Regions from separate parts of the Homo sapiens genome. Here all the other regions are linked to region 4. Evidence: promoter capture Hi-C in human tissues and cell types (Jung and others, 2019). All regions are on one chromosome and are shown on one strand. Each heading gives the region's core, a stretch centred on a gene start or on the middle of the fragment in contact. The rest is flanking DNA. Distances are from core to core; before and after follow the strand shown. Region 1 overlaps MYO1H (myosin IH). Region 2 overlaps KCTD10 (potassium channel tetramerization domain containing 10). Region 3 has its middle 11 kb from the start of C12orf76. Region 4 holds the start of FAM222A (family with sequence similarity 222 member A).

Region 1 (4,986 bases), core at 1,356-3,855, 280 kb before region 4:
TGCCCAGGCTGGTCTCAAATGCCTGGCCTCAAGTGATCCTCCTGCCTTGGCCTCCCAAATTGCTGGGATCACAGGCATGAGGCACCATACCCGGTCTCAAGCATAGAACTTTTTCTTCTGGTACTAGACTATGTTTGTTTGTCTGTTCAGTTTTCTGTCGATGGACATCTGGGTTGTTTCCACCTTTTGGCTATTATGAATCATAGCACCATGCACTGCTACACCCAATGGCTGCTATGAACATTCAGGTATGAATGTTCGGACACCTTTTCATTTCTCTTGGACAGATACCTAGGAGTGGAATTGAGTCACTGGGTTGAGCGTCTGATGATGTCATTGTTCTACAAAGACAGGTCAAACTCCCTACTATATTGAAACAGTTTCTCTCTCCTTTCTTTCTTGCAAAGTACCCATCTTTGAATTCGAGAAAGTTCGTGTAATGGGACTACTACATACACTGAGTGGCCGACATGCCACAGCAGTGCTCAGCAGGCCTCTGGGGCCGGGGATGTGGGGGAGGGCTAGAGGAAGGTACGGTCACAGCTTCTCCATGTCCATCTCCTCTCCTAGGTACAAGTCCTTATGCCCAGACACCTGGCCGCACTGGCACGGGCCTCCAGCAGAGGGCGTGGAACGGCTGATCAAGTACATCGGCTACAAACCCGAGGAATACAAGTTAGGCAAGTAAGTGACCAGAAGACCACCAAATGGTCTCTTCCCTTGACATCAAAGGGTTTTGTGCATTGATCCGTATCCATCTAGAGCCTGGAGACTCGATTCCTAGGGATTTATGGAGATTTGCGAGATTTATGCTTCATCTACTCGATGTAAATGCAGCTCTTAATTCTTTAGAAGAGCTATGGTGCTGCCGGTGGGAGGAAATGAAGTTATAAAGGAAACTTCCGCACTAAACTGATTTAGCAGATGGGCCTCCTTGCTAGCAAAACAAAGAGGGAACCAGAGGGGGCACCTAACGTCCGTGTGCCTGGATTCTTTCACTGTTCCCATGTACGCATGACCTGCCAGAGGAGCTACTGGGACCTAGACAATGTGAGATCATCTGTAGCATCTCAGAAATGGTGTGCTGGAACTCTTAACTGTAGAGTTGTAGTTATCCATGAGCAGAGACTTTCGTACACATTGAAAGCTTTCAGGCACAACTCAAGGGACATGAATCGGGAAGATCCGAGTCCGTCTTGTGCGTCATTTTGGTCAGGGTTAATGAGGTTGCAGGGAAAGGTGTCTCAGCATGAAGATCTATTCCCCGACAGCAGGGCTTCCCCACTCCAGAGAGCTCTGCCTGTGATCCTGTTCATGGGCTTTCCCTGCTGACTCCTAACTCCCACTTGTACATGGTCGTCTGGGCCGCCTTGGCCTCTCTCCATCTGTAGACTCCTATTCTGGGCCTGTTCCAAGGATCAGTTACTTAGTCAGTCCAGATCTCCAAGGGGATTCTGCAAGGCTCAGCACATCCTGAGGGAGGCAGGGCATGGAGGTCAGAGGTGGGATCCGTCTGTCCCCTGTTCCATAAATTGAAACAGGGACAAGGGAGAGTGGGATCACCAGGCACCACCCACTGCTGTCCCCAGTGGCTGCCCTGGGAACTTTCCCTCACCAGGCCTGGGGTCGGGCAGGCAATGTGAGGTCAGTATTTGTAACTTCTCTCTGCTGGCTACTGTGATCTTCTTTTTATTTTTTTATTTTTTGAGACAGAGTCTTGCTCTGTCACCCAGGCTGCAGTGGCATGATCTCGGCTCACTGTAACCTCCGCTTCCTGGGTTCAAGCGATTCTCCTGCCTTAGCCTCTCGAGTAGCTGGGATTACAGGTGCACACTACCACAATGGGCTAATTTTTGTATTTTTAGTAGAGACAGGGTTTCACCGCGTTTGTCAGGCTGGTCTCAAACTCCTGACCTCAGGTGATTCACCTGCCTCGGCCTCCCAAAGTGCTGGGATTGCAGGCGTGAGCCACCGCGCCCAGCGTGATCTTCTTTTAAGCTTAGATCCACATTATTTGTCTGGCTGGGCGTGGTGGCTGGTGCCTGTAATCCCAGCTACTCGGGAGTCTGAGGCACGAGAATCATTTGAACCTGGGAGATGGGGGTTGCAGTGAGCCGAGATTGCACCACTGCACTCCAGCCTGGGCAACAAACTGAGACTCTGTTTCAAAACAAAAACAAAAAACAAACAAAAACACCCATATTCTTTGTCGTCACTCTTTAAAGCCTAGCAACATAACTTGAAGCAACTTCAGGTTACGTTGGTTTATTCATTTCCTAGGACTGCGTAACAGATGATCACAAAGTGGCTGATTTAAAACAAATCTATTCTCTCCTAGTTGTGGAGGCCAGAAATCCAAAAATCAAGAGTTGGCAGGGCCACATTCCTGCGGGAGCCTCTTTTAGCTCTGGTGGCTCCTGGCATTGCTTAGCTGTAGCCGTGTCCCTCCAATCTCTGCCTCCGTCCTCACGTGGGCTCCTCCCTGTGTCTTTCTGTGTGTATAGAGACACTCTCAATGGATTTAGGGCCCACCCTATTCCAGGATGAGCTCATTTCTATCCTTACCTCAATCACATCTGCAAACACTATTTCCAAATAAGATGGTATTCTGAGGTTCTGAGTGGAAATGAATTTTTGAAGGGGGCACCGTTCAACCCACTAGATGGTAAACTGACCAATTAATAACAAAAACATTTCTTTTCACTTCTAGAACCAAAATATTCATTCGTTTCCCCAGAACTCTGTTTGCTACCGAAGATGCCTTTGAATTTAGTAAACATCAACTAGGTATGATTTCTTTTTCTGTCCCGATTTCAATAGAATATGAAATGAACAAGTGGAGCTTGGGGGTAAATCTTAAACACGGGTGTTTGATATAGTGTTAGAAGCATTCGCTTTGGAAACTAGGAACGAGATATGGGATTATGATAAGATCCCTGTGAATTTCTGCTTTAATGACTGCTTGGAGGTCAGTCACAGATGCAGGCAGATATATAAACATTGTTCCGCCGTTTCAGTTCTCGTTTGGATCAGATTCTGTTGTTCACTACTAGGGTGTAAAACCGTGAGAGACCAGCCCCTTGAAATTAAAGTTTACAAAACTTCACTTGTCTGCGTGTCTGATGTTGGAAAGTTTAGCTTCAAAGCCTGCAGCCTGGGTGTTTGCTGGGAATGGTCAATGAGAAAAGTTAGATGGGGAAATGCAAAAAGTAAAAAATCAAAACTGCGGGGGGAGGGAGCGTCTCTTTTGAAATGTAACCGGTCTGTCAAGAACTACGCTTGAGTCATTTGAGGGCCTGCTGTGCGCCAGGTGAACACTAAGTCCTTTAAACCATGGTCTCATTCTGTTCTGAGAACAGACCTGTAAGGGAGGTGACATAGGTGCTATCGTCTCCGCTTTCTATGCAGGGAAACTGAGGCACGGAGGTGTTGGTAACTTGTTGAAGGCTACACAGCAAGTAAGCAGCCTAGCTGCGGTTTGAACCTGGGTCTGTCTGGCTTCAAGGCTTGGTGGTCTCATTTTCTGACCTCCGTAGCAGTGGGCACCAATGGCTGGGGATCTGGTTGAAGGGCCACAGTTAGGCCAGTGGGGCCTGAGCCAGCATCTCTAACCAGCTCGTGGGGAATAGGATGTGGCTGCTCTGCAAGGCTCTTGATGAGCTTGGCCTCTGATAGGACCTAAATTGCTGTGTGGAGGGGGTGGATGCAGGATGTAGAAGCCGAGGGAGAGTGTTCTCTGATCAGACCTGGATTCATGCTCCTCCTTAGCTGTGTTGCCCGGCAAGCGTCTTCACCATCTGTCTGAGCCTGCGTGCCCATTTATAAAACATGCTGATGATGCCTGCCTTGTGGGGTGGCGTATGAGAATGAAATCTAATGCCTGACATGGAACTGGGGGGCTTGTAGCACTAGGTCTGTTCCTTGCCCTGGGAAAAGGAAAGGCAGGAAGGAAACTCCAGTTCCCGGGCAGCATCTGGGAGCCAGGCGTCATGTAACCAGCCAGCTCTCAGGTCTGCAGTGCTGAAATAGCTTCCTGAAACATCACTACACCACAGGACTTTGATGCCCCCTTCCATCGGCCCCCAAACACCCCTGGAGATCACAACCACAAAGATGCGCAAATGCAAAGCCATTTCACCAAAACGTCTGTTTTATTTTAAGTTGCAAGAATCCAAGCCACTTACAAACGCTGCCTAGGAAGGAGAGAATACGTGAAAAAAAGACAAGCAGGTAAGAATTAAATAGAAACAAATAAGTTTGCTCCCTTTCTCATCTGCTTGGCACCTGGGGGCACATTTGTGAGTTCTCTCCCCCTGCTCATCCTTAAAACCTTGTGTGGTGCTATCTTGGGGTCCAGTTCTGGGGCCTCTTCTCATTTTTACCTTATTGATTGGAGATTATAACATAGTGGCCTGTATGTGTTCCACAGGCATGTTTTATTAGTCCTACAATATGTGTACATTTAAAGAATAATTTTGTGGGCCAGTCGCGGTGGCTCATACCTATAATCCTAGCACTTTGGGAGGCTGAGGCGCGTGGATTACTTGAGCTCAAGAGTTCAAGACCAGCCTTGGCAGCATGGTGAAACCCTGTCTCTACCAAAACAAAACAAAACAAAACACCCAAAAATTAGCTAGGCATGGTGGTTAATGCCTGTAGTCCCAGCTACTTGGAGGGCTGATGCAGGAGGACTGTTTGAGCCCAGGAGGTGGAGGTTGCAGTGAGCCACGATGGAACCACTGCACTCCAGCCTGGGTGACAAAGTGAGACCCTGTCTCAAAAAAAATAAAAGAATAATTTTTGAAAAAGTTTCAAACATACAAGTACCCTTGAAGCCCTTCCATTTTTTTGTCCCTCCCCAGTCATGTTCTCAAACAACACTCCCACCCACACGCATACATTTCTTGAGAGTAACCACTCTCTTGAATTTTGCATTAATCATTCTCTTGTTTTTCTTCAATAGTTTCACTATCTATGGGTGTATCT
Region 2 (4,811 bases), core at 358-2,857, 260 kb before region 4:
AAAAAATTTATACAATGGCTTTTCCATTTTCCTGGCCAACATTCACTTCGACTTTCTAAAAAAGCTCAACCCAAAAGAAAGACAGGGTTGGTGTTTAACACTTAAACAGTATAAAATATTTACGAAACATTTTGTAAGCCCTCTTTCCTTAGCACTTAATAAAATCCAAATGGCCTAATATAAAAGTTTCTCACACGACAGTTTAAAAAGCATCTGCCCAATACACGATTTTGACATTCAGTCATGATTGTTTTAAAGTTTTATTGTAGACTTTGCTGTTGGATACAAAATGAAGGCATACAACTGTCACAGGCAGGGCAGTAAGTACAAAGTCTAAGCTGTAAAAACCGTTTGAAAATATAAACTCGTTTTTGGAATACATGTGTCAAAGGCTGCCCATGTTAATACCTTTGGTATAAAACGGTAACGATTCCCTTGACAAACCCATCCATCACCTGACGCACATTCACATCTCCTGGTAACTACTCTACCTAGTCTAGTCTCAACCACCCCTGTCAGTCACGACTCACTCCTGTTCCTTTGCAGGTGCAGAGGAGCCTGGGAGGTAGGTCACTGAGAACACCCGTCCTACATAGGCGCTGCGCCCAGCCGGGCTCCAGCAGGGGCCGCCACCTGTGCCCCACAAGCACACGTCCCCACCCACAGTCACACATATCCCTTAAACAAACATGAACACAGACACAAACCAGACCCAAAGTTATCTATCTACCCGCACATCCTCAACCTGTTCACTGCTGGCCACTCTACACTGTGTAAAAATCAGAGGCAAAGACAAGGGGGTCTGTGTTTATAGCAGGGAAGCTCCCTGGGGCTGGTGGTGTGAGGGTGTCCCTGCCTGGATGCCAGGCTGGGAGGACAAAGGGTATGGGCCACACTGAATTTCTAAGCAAAATGACTTAGAAAGTTAGCCCAGCTTCATGGGGAAGGAGGCTGAAGAGGAGCGGGATCCCAGGGAGGGGTAGTTTATGAGCTATGCCTGTCACAGGGTCAGATGGCCTTCCTGGAGTGGAGTCGGGTCAATCAGGAGAACAACTGGACGGGGCTGGAGTTGGGGAAAGAACCAGAAACAGAGCTGGACACTTACTGCCATGGAAAGTTCTGCTCCTACGCAGACATATGGGGTCCCAGTGAGCACCAGGCCAAAGACCAGCCCAAGGTGGCAAAAGGCTTGATCCCTAAACAAAGCCTTGCACCCAAAGTTGCACTGGTCTCAACGATTTAGACGCTCATTCAGCCATATTTCCACTGCCACAAGCTGCAATTATCAACAAGCTCTAGGCCCAAAGCCACATGGCAGAAAGCACGTCTAGCAAAGCAGTGGGGATTGTGCCCGGGCCAAACACACAGGAACCAGGAGTGGACCTGCTGGGGCTGGAGGATTATGAAATAGGAAGCAGGGAGCTCAGATACCTCTGGTGGCCTCCAACTGCAGGACAACTCTCAGAATTGTCAAACTGAACCCTTAAGGGAGTGTCACCCAAAAAGCCCACATAGGAAGTCGACACCCACAAAAATAAATATTGCAAACAAAAGTTCTCACATACACTTCACACTCATTCATACTTTTCCTCTGAGAACCGAGAAAGCCTGGCTCCAAAGAGTCTCAGATTCTCATGAAAAGTAGAGATCTTAGACACAGCTTGTTCAACGACAGGGGTCATACGCCTGGGTCAAGACAATCAATTTGCCTTGTCAAGCAATACCAAAATAATCATCTGGCTTGTTACAAAAGTATCTCCAGGCTCCAAGGGAAGCAGAAGGGGCCCGGCAGCCTGCACAGGATCTGGGTGTAGCACGGCAGGGAGTGGGGGCGGTGAGAGGAGGGCGGCTCGGTCTCTTGCCTGCTCACTGGTGGAGGTGGGCCCGGTCATCAGGGCGCTTGATGTGGATCCTCCGCACGCGCTCGATCCGCTCCCGCTCCTCGTCCTCGTCCAGGTGGTGGGAGCGCCCCGCCGCCCCGCCTGTGGCCTCCAGGAGCGCATTGTCAGGTCCCCGGCCATCCTGGGCCTCATACAGCAAAATGTTCAGGGTCTCCTCATAAATCCGGGCTTCGGGAAACTCCACCTGTGTTCCCACAGTATACAGGGCAGGTAAGTTATGGCCCACCCCCTCTGCCAACACCTGGACTTTAAGCAGGGCCGCCAGGCTAAATCAGGCCCCTGGGATTCTGCTGAAGGCCACCAGTATTATTTTTAAATAAACTGATATTTTCAATGGCAACACTTACATGTGGTGCTAAATGCACAGAAAATCAAGGGGATGCAGAGAAACAGGTCTCCCTGCCCCTAGTTTCCCTTCTTAAAGGTACAGTTTCTCATCATTTTACCCTCTCAAAGATTCTGTGCATGTAAATATGTGTAATACACATATTTATTCACACACTTCAAAAAACACACAAGGTGGCCCACCACACAGAGTTGTACATGTCTTCCTCTTGTGCCTAACTTAACCTAGAGATCATTCTGTATCAAGGAATTATAAATACGACAATGCAATTAACCATACTTGGATGGCCATTTAGGTCAGTGCTAATATGCTTCTCCTAACAGAGCTGCAACCTTGCACAGAAGTCCTTCCACACCTTAAAGCAGTCTCTAAAGCAGTTTTTTGTACAGGGTCCAGCTGGGGACTCCCACGAAATGGGCATGAGCCCTTCTGCTGTTTGGCAAATCATTGTGTTTGCTCATTGCCCTTCAGGGTTAAGGTGTGATGAACAGGAAGAGGGCCACATAAGCAGGTCCCACACATTTGATCAGACTAGACTCCACTTTCAGGGTGGAATTCGGAGGTTCTGGGAAAAATGGAGCAGGCACACTCTACCCCGTCTTCCTCACTGACACTACAAAGCCAGAATGGGATGCACACAGCAGCTAACTGTGGACTCAGAAGTAAATCATGGCAGGCAGATGGGGGAAACAACAGAATTTGGAGTAATGCCCAACAGTGAGTTTACTGTTTGCTGCTGCCAGCACTGATGCAGCCTGAAACCCTGAAATGGCACCAGGACAGAAGACCTCCAGAAGGTCTCTAGTGGCCAGGGAGGCCAACAGAGTCTAACAGGCAGAGAGGCTGGGAGGAAATCCTGGTTTTCTTTCCTTTTTTTTTAAAAGATATGGGATCTGGCTAATTAAGCTTTAAAATTTTAAGACTTCTCATTTTTAGAGCTTAATAAGGAGCAAGGGGATTTAGAGACCACATGGTCTGATCCCAACTGTTTCTTGATTCACAGACCAGGTTCAGGAGTGGCGTGTTCTTGTGTTTGTGAAGCTGGTTAGGGGCAGAGCCAGGACGGGAGTCCAAGGGCCTCTTTCTTTTCTCTTTTTTGTTTTGAGAGGGAGTGTTGCTCTGTCACCCAGGCTGGAGTGCAGTGGCACAATCATAGCTCACTGCAGCCTTGAACGCCTAGGCTCAAATGATTCTCCCACCTCAGCCTCCCCAAGTAGTTGAGACTATAGGCATGCATCACCATGCCCAACTAACTTTTTGTAGAGATGAGTGTGTTGCTATGTTGCCCAGGCTGGTCTTGAACTACTGGGCTTAAATGATTCTCCCACCTCAGCCTCCCAAGTAGTTTAGACTACAGGCACACACCACCATGCCCAGCTATTTTTTAAAAAATTTTTGGTAGAGACAGGGGTGTTGCTATGTTGCCCAGGCTGGTCTTAAACTCCTGGACTCAAGCAATCCTTCTGCTTTGGCCTCCCAAAGTGCGGGATTACAGGTGTGAGCCACCATGCTCAGTCCTTTTCTTTATTTTCTTGCACCCAGACCTGAGCATTCCTGTGGCAGCAACCAGAGACTGCAGGAGTCAAAACTCTGAGGGAAGGAACCTTCTTTTCTGATGAGAAGAGCTGTGGTCTCAGCAGGATTGGGAGAATCTGGTTGCTTTTTCTATCTTCATGCTCCTGGGCCCAAAATACAGGCATGGTTACAGAAAGTGGGTGGCAAAGGGGGAATAACCAAACCCCCAGCTTTCTGGCTGGCCGATCAGAGAAGGGGACTCCAGGGAAGCTTAGAGAACTGCGGAGAAGAGGAGCTTGAGAAAGCAGCCTGTGAAGTTGTATATGAACTCCTAGACCCACACCCAGCTGCAAGATCTACCCCTAAACTGCATACGCAGACTGAAAGAACTGAATGCTGCAAGAGATACTGCCCAGGACAGACGGGCCACAGCATGGCACACAGCTAGGACAGATTTGAAGGCTTTGAAAATCAAACTGTCACCGCAACTACAAACTACAGAAGGCTGGTTAGAGCTTGCAGCCTGAGCCCAACTGGGTCAATTGCCTGCTAAAACAAAAACATCAATGTTCTCCCTAGGATTTAAACAAGGCCTGGAGTCCTTTAACAATATTCAAAATGTTTAGGATACAATCAAAATTTCTCAATACACAAGAACCAAGAAATTCTCAACTCCTGTGGGAAATAACTCACAGATGCTAGCGCCAAGGTGACACAAGGTTTTGGAATTACCTGACAAAGACCTGGCAGCAGCTATTATTAACCTGTTCCAGTAAGTAAGGGCCAATGCTCTTAGAGCAAATGGAAACATAGGGAGTCTCAGCAAGGAGACAGAAAAACCAAATGAGCACTTGAGAACTGACAAATACAATAACCAACAACCTCAAACAAAAACACAACTTACCAGCAGGGCTCAATAACAGAGTGGAGATGAGACAGGAGAGGAGAGTGATATGGGCTGGGTGCAGTGGCTCATGCCTGTAATCCCAACACTTTGGGAGGCCAAGGTAGAAGGACCACTTGAGGCCAGGAGGTCGAGACCAGCCTGG
Region 3 (5,277 bases), core at 1,343-3,842, 350 kb after region 4:
TGGAGTGGCAGGGAAATAAGGATGGAGGGTGAGGTTGAGCCCATGGAACCCTCAGGCTGCTTGTGCTGGACTCACCAGATGGAGACGAAGGTGTCCACCATAAAGTTGTTCTTCAGAGTCCCAATCCACATGCTCTGAATATAAGTGACTTTCGCAGACTTACCTTGGCATTGCAGGTAGGATGGGCCCCATGCCAGCATGGTTAGATTGTTCTTCAAGCTCTGCAGGGAGGATGTGCCTTTCAGCAAAGTTCCTCTCCCCCTTACAGCTCCTAAGGTTCCAGAGCAAAAGTAACACCAAAGGGCTGAGCCTCCAAAGTGAACTGCCCTCATATCCCTTACCTCATGACTAACCCAGGGCCAACAGACATCTTCATGGACCCCTAAAGAACAGTGGCGCCGGGCACTGTGCCTGCAGTGCGGCACGGAGAAGCTGAGCATGCAGCCTCTGCTTCTCTTTTTTAAAATCCCAAGAGGAGAATCTAATCAAGTCCATCCCTGGTCCTCTAGGCCATGGTGGGGGCTCAGCAAGGGTTGAGGACCCAAGAGATGCTCTGAGAAGAAAATGGGGGAGAGCCAGCACCCCCAAGGCAAGTTAAATCCCAATTATATTAGTTTCTGTAACAAATTACCACTAACTTAGTGGCTTTCAACAACACTAATGTATTCCTTTCCACTTTTGGGGGTTAGATTCCTAAAGTCAGTCTAACAGGGTAAAAATCAAGGGCTAAAAAGAAAAAATATAAATTAAGATCCCAGCTGGGCGCAGTGACTCACGCCTGTAATCCCAGCACTTTGGGAGGCCAAGGCAGGTGGATAACTCGAGGTCAGGAGTTTGAGACCAGCTTGCCCAACATGGCAAAACCCCGTCTTTACTAAAAATACAAAAATTAGCCAGGCACAGTGGTGGGCGCCTATAATCCCAGCTACTCGGGAGGCTGAGGTGGGAGAATCATTTGAACCCATGAGGCGGGGATTGCAGTGAGCCAAGATCACGCCATTGCAAACTCCAGCCTGAGCAACAGAGAGAGACTCGGTCTCAAAAAAAAAAAAAAAAAAAAAAAAAGAAGATCCCAGCACAAATCACTCAGGCAATCATTGTTGAAACTTTTGAGTGTCTTCTAGATATCTCTTTATGTCCACACCTAGACACACAAACAGATATACTGATGTTACAAACGTGGCCACACTACAGGCTGCAGGCTGTTTTGTAACTTGCTATTTTTACTCAATAATATGTTATTAATTCTTTCTATGACAGTAAAGATATCTGTGATAAAGATAGATCTATGATACACAATCATTTTCAGTGGCTAAAGAGTATCCTAGTGATTGAATATATGAAACTGCCCATTTTGGCAGGTCATGGTGCCTCACGCCTGTAATCCCAGCACTTTGGGAGGCCAAGGCGGGCAGATCACTTGAGGCCAGGAGTTCAAGACCAGGCTGGCCAACATGGCGGAAACCCTGTCTCTACTAAAAATGCAAAAATTATCCAGTTGTGGTGGTGCATGCTTGTAATCCCAGCTACTTGGGAGGCTGAGGCAGGAGAATCACTTGAACCTGGAAGGCGGAGGTTGCAGTGAGCCGAGATCATGCCACTGCACTGCACTTCAGCCTGGGCAACAGAGTGAGACTCTCTCTCCAAAAAAAAGAAAAGAAAGAAAGAACTGCCCATTTTGTAGGCCATAGCTATAGAATACAGGCAGTTCCATATGGCTCAAGCTAAGAGGTACATTGTGATAATTTGCCAGTCAGTCTCTGGGATAGATATTTAACTGTAACTTTTGTTCAATTTTCCCAATTATAAACAATTTTTGGTAACCCTAATATGTCCTTACCATGTGCCAACCACTCTTCTAAGTCTATTTTGCTGACATATATTAACTTTTGCAATTCTTACTCCCCCCCACCAAAAAAATGAAAACAAAAACCAACTCTATAAGGAAGGTGCTAGTATTACCTCCACCTAATAGCCGAACAAACTGTGGTATGAATGAAGCGAGAAGCTTGTCCAAGGTCACATGGTAAACAGCAGCGCCAGCTCTGAACGCAGCCATCTGGCTCCACAGCCTCAGCTCTCTTAAATGCTATGGTAAATGGAATTATTTTTCCAATTTCCTTTTCAAATGTTCCTTGCTGGTGTAAAAAAAAATGCACACACACAATTAATTTTTGTGTGTTGATCTTGTTCCTTGCGACTTTACTGAATTGGTTAATTAGCTCTATCTAATAGTTTTCTTGTGAATTCTTCGGGATTCTCCATATATGGGATTGTGCCATCTGTGATTAAAGATAGTTTTACTTCATTCTTTGCCATCTGGATGCCTTTTATTGCTTTTCTTGTCTAATTGCTCTGGCTAGAACTTCCAGTACAATGTTGAACAGCAGCGGTGAAAGCGGGCATCCTCGTCCTGTTCCTGATCTCAGGAAGAATGCACTCAGGCTATGCTCCTAACAACTGTGCTCACTGTCTGTCCACCCCACATTCATGTTGCCAGAAATCCCTGCACAAGCTTCTTCACACACCTAAGGCATTAAGTCTATACAGGACTTCTGGGTCAAAGGGTGTGCACATTTTCTATCTGAGTTTATTTTCCTAAATCATAAATGCTTGAACCATTTCATGCTTCCATCACCAAAGCAAGAGTGTGTACACTGCCTCTTAAGAGGGGCTTGACAAACAAGCGGTGTGAACTTGGTTGAGACAGTTGAGGGTCTGGTCGCCAGGCTGAGAGCACATGGCCTGTAGGATGGAGGCTGTGAGTTTGAAGAAGAGGAGAGACATAGTAGCAGTGTGCAGCCATTTGAAGAGGGACACAAGGCAAAACTAAGCAAAGGTGAAAGTTACAGGGGGAAAGATTTTGGCTCATTTTCTCAGGAAGAAAAGTGACAGGGCAGTCCCAGAGCAGAACAAGCTTTCCTTGTGGTTACTGCTGGTGATGGTGAGGAAGATGATGAAGATAATTTTCATTTACCACATCAACTTCCCTTTCTCTCCTGTCCCCTTTCCATCTGCACTTAACATCATTTCTCTACTAAAAATACAAAATTAGCCAGGCATGGTGGCACATGCCTGTATTCCCAGCTACTCAGAAAGCTGAGGCAGGAGAATAGCTTGAACCCCAGAGGCGGAGGTTGCGGTGAGCCGAGATCACCCCATTACACTCCAGCCTGTGCAACAAGAGTGAAACTCTGTCTCCAAAATACCCCCTCTTCAATCCCACATTCTCTTACCACCACTCCATGCCTCTCTTCTTCATAGCCAAGTCCCCTGAAAGAGTGAGTCATCATATCCATTTCTGCATCTCCATTCACTCCTCCGCCCACTCCAGTCTGGCTCCCACCCCCATCCCTTCTCTAAAGCCTCTCTTGCCAAGTAAACAACAACGTCATTGTCACTAAATCCAATAGACACACCACATAGCTGATCTTCCTGGAACTCTCAGCACCAGTTGACACTGTGACCATGCCCCACCTCCCTCACCTCCTTCCCTTAGCTTGCAGGAATCCACCTTTGCCTGACTTTCATTGGATCTCTGTGGCTACTCCTTCTCAGAATCCTTTGGGGACTTCAGCACTCCCACCCCTTAAAGGTTAGCCCTTCTCCGGGGTCGGTTCTAGGCCCTCTTGCTTTCTCATCTACTTCTTCTCTTGCTGGTGAATTGCAGCTTCTTCCATGGTTCTAGTTCCCATCTATATGCTGGTGATATAGAAACCTACATCTCAGGCCAGGCGCAGTGGTTCATGCCTGAAATCCCAGCACTTTGGGAGGCTGAGGTGGGCGGATCACCTGAGGCCAGGAGTTCAAGACCAGCCTGCCCAACATGGTGAAACCCAATCTCTACTAAAAATACAAAATTAGCCAGGTGTGGTGGCGGGCACCTGTAATCCCAGCTACTCAGGAGGCTGAGACAGGAGAATCACTTGAGCCCGGGAGGCGGAGGATGCAGTGAGCTAAGATCGCACAACTGCCCTCATATCCCTTAGCTCATTGCAATAGAGGAAGAGTAATTCATGCAGAGCCAGCTCTGTGGGGGAGACCAGAGACTCTGACTCAAAAAAAAAAAAAAAAAAGAAACCTACATCTCAGCTCCAGATTCATATATCCAACCACCTATTCAACATCTACATGCATATGTTCCATGAACACTTCGAACTCAATGCCTTCAGTTCTGACCTCATCTTCCACCCCAAATTGGCTCTTTCTCCTGCATTTCCTATCCCAGCAAGTTATTCCAGCACCTATCAGTTGTCCAAGCCAGAAACATGGCACACTCCTTGACTCATTCTCTCCCTCTTTCCCCCTCACCCATTCAGTTGCCAAATCCTACTGTTTTACCTTTCTAATATTGCTCGAAGTCATCTACTTCTCTCCTCTGCCTCTACTACCTCCTCAGTCCAGGTCACCATCAGCTTTCCTATCTGGACAACCCAATGGTCTCCTAAATGGTCTCCTTTCCTCCAGTCTTACCCTGTCCCCTCCACTCTCTATACTGCACACTGCATACTTTTTTTTTTTTTTTTCTTGAAACGGAGTCTTACTCTGTCACCCAGGCTGGAGTGCAGCAGCAAGATCTTGGCTCACCGCAACCTCTGCTGCCTGTGTTCAAGTGATTCTCCTGCCTCAGCCTCCTGAGTAGCTGGGATTACAGGCATCTGCCCCCACGCTCAGCTAATTTTTGTAGTTTTTAGTAGAGATGGGGTTTCACCATCTTGGCCAGGCTGGCCTTGAACTCCTGACCTCGTGATCCACCCGCCTCAGCCTCCCAAAGTGCTGGGATTACAGGTGTGAGCCACCACTCCCAGCCTACACTGCATACTTTAATGAGAGCATGGACTATGGTGTGAGATGCTTAGGTTCAATCTCAGCTCTACCACTTACTGGCTACACGACCTTGGACAAGTGACTTAACCTTTCTGAGTCATTGTTTCTTCTGTAATAAGAGGATATTAGGGCCCAGCGTGGTGGCTCATGCCTGTAACCCCAGCACTTTGGGAGGCCGAGGTGGGTGGATCATTTGAAGTCAGGAGTTCGAGACCAGTTTGGCCAACGTGGTAAGACCCCCTCTCTACTAAAACTACAAAAATTAGCTGGGCGTGGTGGCGCACGCCTGTAATCCCAGCTACTTAGGAAGCTGAGATAGGAGAATCGTTTGAACCCAGGAAGCAGAGGTTGCAGTGAGCCAAGATCGTGCCACTCCACTCCAGCCTGAGTGATTGAGTGAGACTCCATCTCCCAAAAAAGAAGATATTAGTATTGTATTCGGCAGGGTTT
Region 4 (5,335 bases), core at 1,108-3,607:
CCACCATGAGCACATCGTGGACTCATAGAACTTCAGAGATGGAGGGGTCTTTTGAGATCTTCTCGACCTGGGGTTGTCAGCCCTGGCTGTATCAGGAACCACATAGGAGCTTTGGAAACTGCTGTCCCACCAAGGAGAGTCTGATTGGTAGGGCTGGGGTTTGGGTCCTACCCTCCATTTCATGGCAGGGGAAACTGAGGTCCAGAGAAGAGAAGAAACTCCCCTCAAGGTTGCACACGGTCAGACAGTGGCTGCCACAAGGTGCAATAAATCAACGTCAGGGCTCTGGACTTTGGTTCTGTCATTTGTGTGACCTTGGGTAAGTCATGTGGCCTTCCTCTGCTGTAGGATGTGCATAGTGATCGTATATACCTTATAGGGTTTCTGCGAGGGTAAAAGGAGTTATGTGAGATAAATAGCAGTGAGCCCATGCCTGACACACAGTAGGTGTGAAGTCATGGTGACCTACAATGAAAAAAATCCCAAACTTTTGACAGGCTGTGGTGCGAACTGCTGCCTTCTTCTCCTCTTCGCGATCTCTCTCATTTCCCAGGGTTTGCTTGTTACTGTCCCTCGCCCTGTCCTCAGCTGAAGTCTGGTCTCCCCACCTGTCCACACGCTGGGTCCACCCATCCAGTCGCCCCGGCCGCCCTCCCTGACGTCCCCGCAGCCCTGGCTGCTGGCCCGAGCGGGAAGCAGCTGGAGGCATAACACATTTCCAGGTAAATCCCCACCCCCACCTTCAGCCTGGGGAGGGAAGGGGAGGAGATGGGGGCGGCCGCGGAGAAATAGAGCGGAGCTGCTGGGAACAGCGCGCCGAGCAGCCGCTTAGAGGCCTGAAACAGGGCCAGCTCCTGTCCTAGATAAGGCGGCGGGTGACCCACTTGGGCCGGCCCTGGAGGTCCGCCGCGGGCGCCTCTCCCGGCGGGGTGGGTTGGCTCCTGGAAGTAGGCTAGGGCCCGTCTATAATCAGCCCGTCCGCTGGATACGCTCCCCAGGGTCTCCAAAGCCCTCCAGCCCGGGTGAGTACAGAGGGCATTTATTGAGCACTTAATGTGTGTTTTGAGTCCTTTACATGCAAGAATTCATTTTGCCCTCAAATCTACGCTGTAAGGTAGGAATTATGATGCCCCCCATTTCACAGACAAGAAACTGAGGCGCAGACCCGTGAAGGTAAATGGCCAAGACCAACAACCAGCAAGGGCAGGGCTGCAATCCCACCCAGTTTCGGTGGGACTCCAGGTATCACACGGGCATAGCCTGAGGGGTGGGGGGTCTGACTGCTGCTCTGCATTTCTGTGGGGATCTTTGTTATTATCCCGGAAAGCTGGCTTCCTACAGTGCTGTGTGATGGACACACAGCAACTGAGGGAACTGCCCCACCCAGGACTCAATTTCCCCATCTGTAAATGAGACTGCTAGACGGGCCGCCCATGGGCTGTGAGAACCCAGGAAGCTTCTTTAAAAGTAAAAGGGAAAGCACAGTATAGTTTGATAGATTCATATTTGAACCCCAGGTTGATGTGAAACTATGCCTCAGTTTCCCTATCTATTAAGTGGGGGAGTAGGCTAGTGCCTGTCTCCTGTGGGCGTGGGGTACGTCTAGAAGGTGTAGCTTGCAAATTGCTCAGCGCTGTGCTGGGTTATATAGTTAGCGCTCCACAGATCACAACTGTGATGCCAAAAACACATCGCTGCCAAAAATAAGCCTTAGGACAAAAACATCCAGGACCATGTCACTTCACATCTCCTTACCTCAGTTTCCTCTGTAAGTTGGAAGTATAATAATAGTACCTACCGTATCAGTTTTCTCATCTGTAAAATGGGGGTGATAGTAATACCCACTCACACGGTGTTGTGAGGATTAGATAAAATACTTTGCTACATAAGTGTTAGCTATAGTTGTTATTTTTAACAAATTCCTCATGAGGTTGGTTTTTGCCAAGATTAAATGAAATAATGCCGATAATGCACTTATACAGTGCCTTGTCCCAAATATGTGATCAGTAAATGACACTGGTTTTGCCACCCCTAGTGGGACTACAAAAACCAGCACGCCCTGCGCCCCCAGTCGGGGCCCCTCCACCCGGCGCCGGCGCGCAGCATGCCGGGAGTTGCAGTCCTCGCGAGGCAAGTTCCGCCTCGTCCCTGCTTGGGGGAGGAGGTTGGAGAGCCGCCCTGCCGGCCTTTGAATTTTGCCGCGAAAAGCGCGCGTGGCGGCCCCCGGCTCCGCCCCTCGCAGGACGCGGTGCCGCGTCACCCTGGTAACCGCCTCTCAGCCGCCGCTGATTGGGCTGGGCCGCGGGGGGCGGGCGGGGGACGAGACGCGGGGGCTGCTGCCGGCGCTCGCGCCTGTCAGTCGGGCCAGAGCGGAGCAGCGGGCAGGACTGCCTGGCCGGCTGCTCCGCGGAGAGGCTGCGCGCGCCGGCCGGGGGAGGCGGACAGCCGGGCCCGGCGCCTGTGGGGCGCGGCGCGCGGCACCCGGGCCTGAGACCAGGCGAGGCGCCGGCGCGCGCCAGACGGCGCGAGGCTGCGGCCCCGGGAGCCCCCGCGCGCCGCCCGGGGCCATGGGCGCGTGAGAGCCCAGCGCGCGCGGCCCCTGCTGCGGCTTGCGAGCTCGCACACCCGGTGCACAGTCCCCCGGGCCGTCCTCGTGTCCGTCCTGCGCCACTGGGATCGGCTGTTTCTCAGCGCCGAGGCCCCCGAGGCTGCATCCGAGCTTGCGTCGCCCGCTGCCGCCGCCGCCGCCGCTGCCGCCGCCGCTGTTCGCCGGCTTCCCCTCCCCCCACACCCGGGGCTCAGAGCAGGAGGAGGAGGGGCCGGTGCATTCTCGCCGCTGTTCTTTGCAACCTGCAGGGGCCGGTGTATGTCCGGCGAGGAGCCGGGGCCGCTGCGGGTGCGTGCAACCCCCGAAGGAGACAATCCCTCCACCTCGGGGCGAACCCGGGGGCTGCAAGCCGCGGGCGGGCGGGCGAGCGAGAGGAAGCAACAAAGACAGGCTGCAGCTGGGGCTGGCGAAAGGGGCCGCGGCCGCCGGGCTCCCAGCGCGGGCGGAGAGGGCGCCCTGGGAGCGGCGCGGGCCGAGCTGCAGCCTTGAGCGGGGCCCCGAGGGGAGGCGCAGCGCCGCCCGCCGGACGTGGCGATCACGGGCCCCGGCGAAGATGCGTCGCCTGAGCGCCCGCGCGGCCCCCGTCCGGGGCGGGCGTGACCCCTGCTGAACGGAGACCTCCCCTCCCCCCCGACTTCGGACGGCGCAGGCCGGCGCCAGGATAGCCCTCACCGACAGCGCCCCTTCCCACCCGGAGAGAGGCATCGACCCCCAAGGAGGGCTTCGTCAGGCAGCCTCTGCCACTCCTGCATGGCTGCGACCCGTCGAGCGGAGCGTCGTGGTAGCTGAGACCTGGTGCCCTTCGACGGCCTGGCTGATCCGGTGAGTTGTGCGGGGCGGGGTTCTGCGCTGGAGCTGGGGGCACCCCCTGGCGTCCGGGCAGCCAGGATTGGACAGAAGGGGTCCTAGGCTGTTGGGGGTCCTGAAGCAGAGATAACCCTTGTCCGCCCCTTTCCTCCCTCCAAACACAACTTGTTCAGATGGGCCAGCCGATGGGAGTGGAGGTTGGGGGGCCCATTCGGATTCCGCGGGACCCTGGGCGGGTTGGTTGCCAGAGAGGAAAGGTCACCCCACCCGTAAAGCTAACAAAGGTATTGGCTGTGTCATCCGAAAATTCCCCGGGAACTCCAGTGTCTTGGAAGGGCTGGGGGGTGGGGGGCACCCAGGATGGGAAAACGTTGAGGGTCTCCCGAGCAGCCTCTGAGATCTTCAAGGGAAATCACCTCAGAGGGGGATTTGGGGTTCCAGAAACGCAGGTGGCCACGTTTGAGAATTGTGCCCCATGGGGCTAGACCTTAGAGCCCTCGTTCAAACCACGTTCCCACAAATAACTCGCAGGGACGGTAGGTTCCCCAGTGGGGGCACGACATGACGTCAAACCTTAGCCTCTGATGTCACTGGGGTTGCCGTGGCAACACCACTTGCCTTGACCCAAGGCCGGAGGGGGCGGGGTCGTGGTAACAAGGGGCGGGGCTGGATGCCTTTGGGTAGTGGAGGGGTGAAGGCGGACTCCCCCCACCCCTACCATTGCAGTCCTCTGACCTAAATCCTTAGCGCCCCATAAGGTGGGGGAGGGAGGCAGTGCCAGCTGTCCCTGTTGATGCTCCTCCCCGCAAGGACAGGTGTTCAGAGCTTTGCCCATGTAGCCTGGCCTGTGCCTCGGGGCTCAGGCCTCCCAGACAGAGCAACTTTCTGTTTTGAAAAGAGATGCTATAGAAGAGACCTCCCTGAACCCCACCATGTACCCAGCTGGCAGGCTGAAGTTCCCAGGGTCCCCAGAGAGATGTGGGCCTCCGGCCCTCCAATAGGCTACTTCTGCTGGGGAAAATGTGGGTGCCCCTCCCCCAGCCAAGGAAGGTGCAGAGGAGCTGCTGCCTGCTGCACCCCTAGTCCAGGGGCTCCCCATGCTGTTCTACCCCAAGGTCAGGGGCCTTGGCCAACCTGGAACTCCTGATTGCCCCCTGCTCCTTCTGGTGTTTAAGAGGATTTCAACGAGCATATTGTGAGGCTGCTTAAGTGAATGGCGGGCAAGTGAGGCCCATCAGTGCCAAGGTCTGAATAAACTGTGTCTCTGTCAGGGCACCCCCAACCAACACACACCCCAGTACTGGCACGCTTCCCTGCAAAGGCCCAGAGAACCCCCAGCAAGCATCCTGCTGCTGGCTCTGGGATTCGTCTAGGTCCCTTCCAGCAATTATTGCCAGTGTCGGGTGCTGGTGAAACTGCTGTGATCACATTTCTAGGAAAAGGTTCGAAAACTGTCATTGCCTCAGCAGCGTGGGGCGGGGTAAGAGCAGAGAAAGTGTGTGTTCGGGTCATTAGGAGAAGCCAGGCCCCAGTCTATGCAGCGAGCATTTTCCCTGCTCTTCTACCAAGCTCTCTAGCTAGATTAACAGGTCAATAAATATCGGTGGAGCTGCTTTTGGGGGCTTGGCAGGGAGATGGTATTTCCAGCTGAAATGGTGTCGTTAAACACACAAGCTTCCAAGGACAGAGGAGCAACAGCAGATTGGGGGAGAGCCGGGAGAGGTGGGCAGAAGGGCTGTTTGCGCTGCCTCTCGAAGCTTCCCAGTTTAGAAACAAACTCGGAGTGCGCGCCAGAGATTCACAAACACAGGCAGTTGGAGGCCCTCTGCCGAGTATTTACACTTCCACAGCCAAGGCAGAGGGAAAGGCTGTCAGAATTGGGCAATTCCTTCTGTTCCCTTCCCTCATCTCCCTGGGCTT

What was found. Contacts are between HindIII fragments. The study calls those that stand out against the background at their distance.
Region 1: a fragment that was not itself captured here is called in contact with the fragment with the promoter of FAM222A in region 4 in 1 of the 25 tissues and cell types used here (IMR-90 fibroblasts).
Region 2: a fragment that was not itself captured here is called in contact with the fragment with the promoter of FAM222A in region 4 in 1 of the 25 tissues and cell types used here (thymus).
Region 3: a fragment that was not itself captured here is called in contact with the fragment with the promoter of FAM222A in region 4 in 1 of the 25 tissues and cell types used here (hippocampus).

The regions. Positions count from the first base shown.
Region 1 is chr12:109,432,327-109,437,312 of GRCh38, forward strand. It overlaps MYO1H (myosin IH), which reads left to right. Exons shown (of 32, transcript NM_001101421.4): 20 at 571-684; 21 at 2,711-2,787; 22 at 4,162-4,230. Among named protein-coding and RNA genes, the nearest start is that of KCTD10, 42 kb to the right of the region's middle. RefSeq lists an enhancer at 1,439-1,943. The HindIII fragment of the contact is 4,306 bases long and covers 453-4,758 here.
Region 2 is chr12:109,449,729-109,454,539 of GRCh38, forward strand. KCTD10 (potassium channel tetramerization domain containing 10) reads right to left here. Exons shown (of 7, transcript NM_031954.5): 7 at 1-2,085. The coding sequence ends at 1,867. Among named protein-coding and RNA genes, the nearest start is that of KCTD10, 25 kb to the right of the region's middle. The HindIII fragment of the contact is 3,969 bases long and covers 1-3,592 here.
Region 3 is chr12:110,057,026-110,062,302 of GRCh38, forward strand. It overlaps a transcript of C12orf76 not described here. Among named protein-coding and RNA genes, the nearest start is that of C12orf76, 11 kb to the left of the region's middle. The HindIII fragment of the contact is 4,989 bases long and covers 99-5,087 here.
Region 4 is chr12:109,711,468-109,716,802 of GRCh38, forward strand. FAM222A (family with sequence similarity 222 member A) reads left to right here and starts at 2,358. Exons shown (of 3, transcript NM_032829.3): 1 at 2,358-3,430. RefSeq lists an enhancer at 820-1,383 and silencers at 2,089-2,418, 2,449-2,498. The HindIII fragment of the contact is 9,746 bases long and covers 1-5,335 here.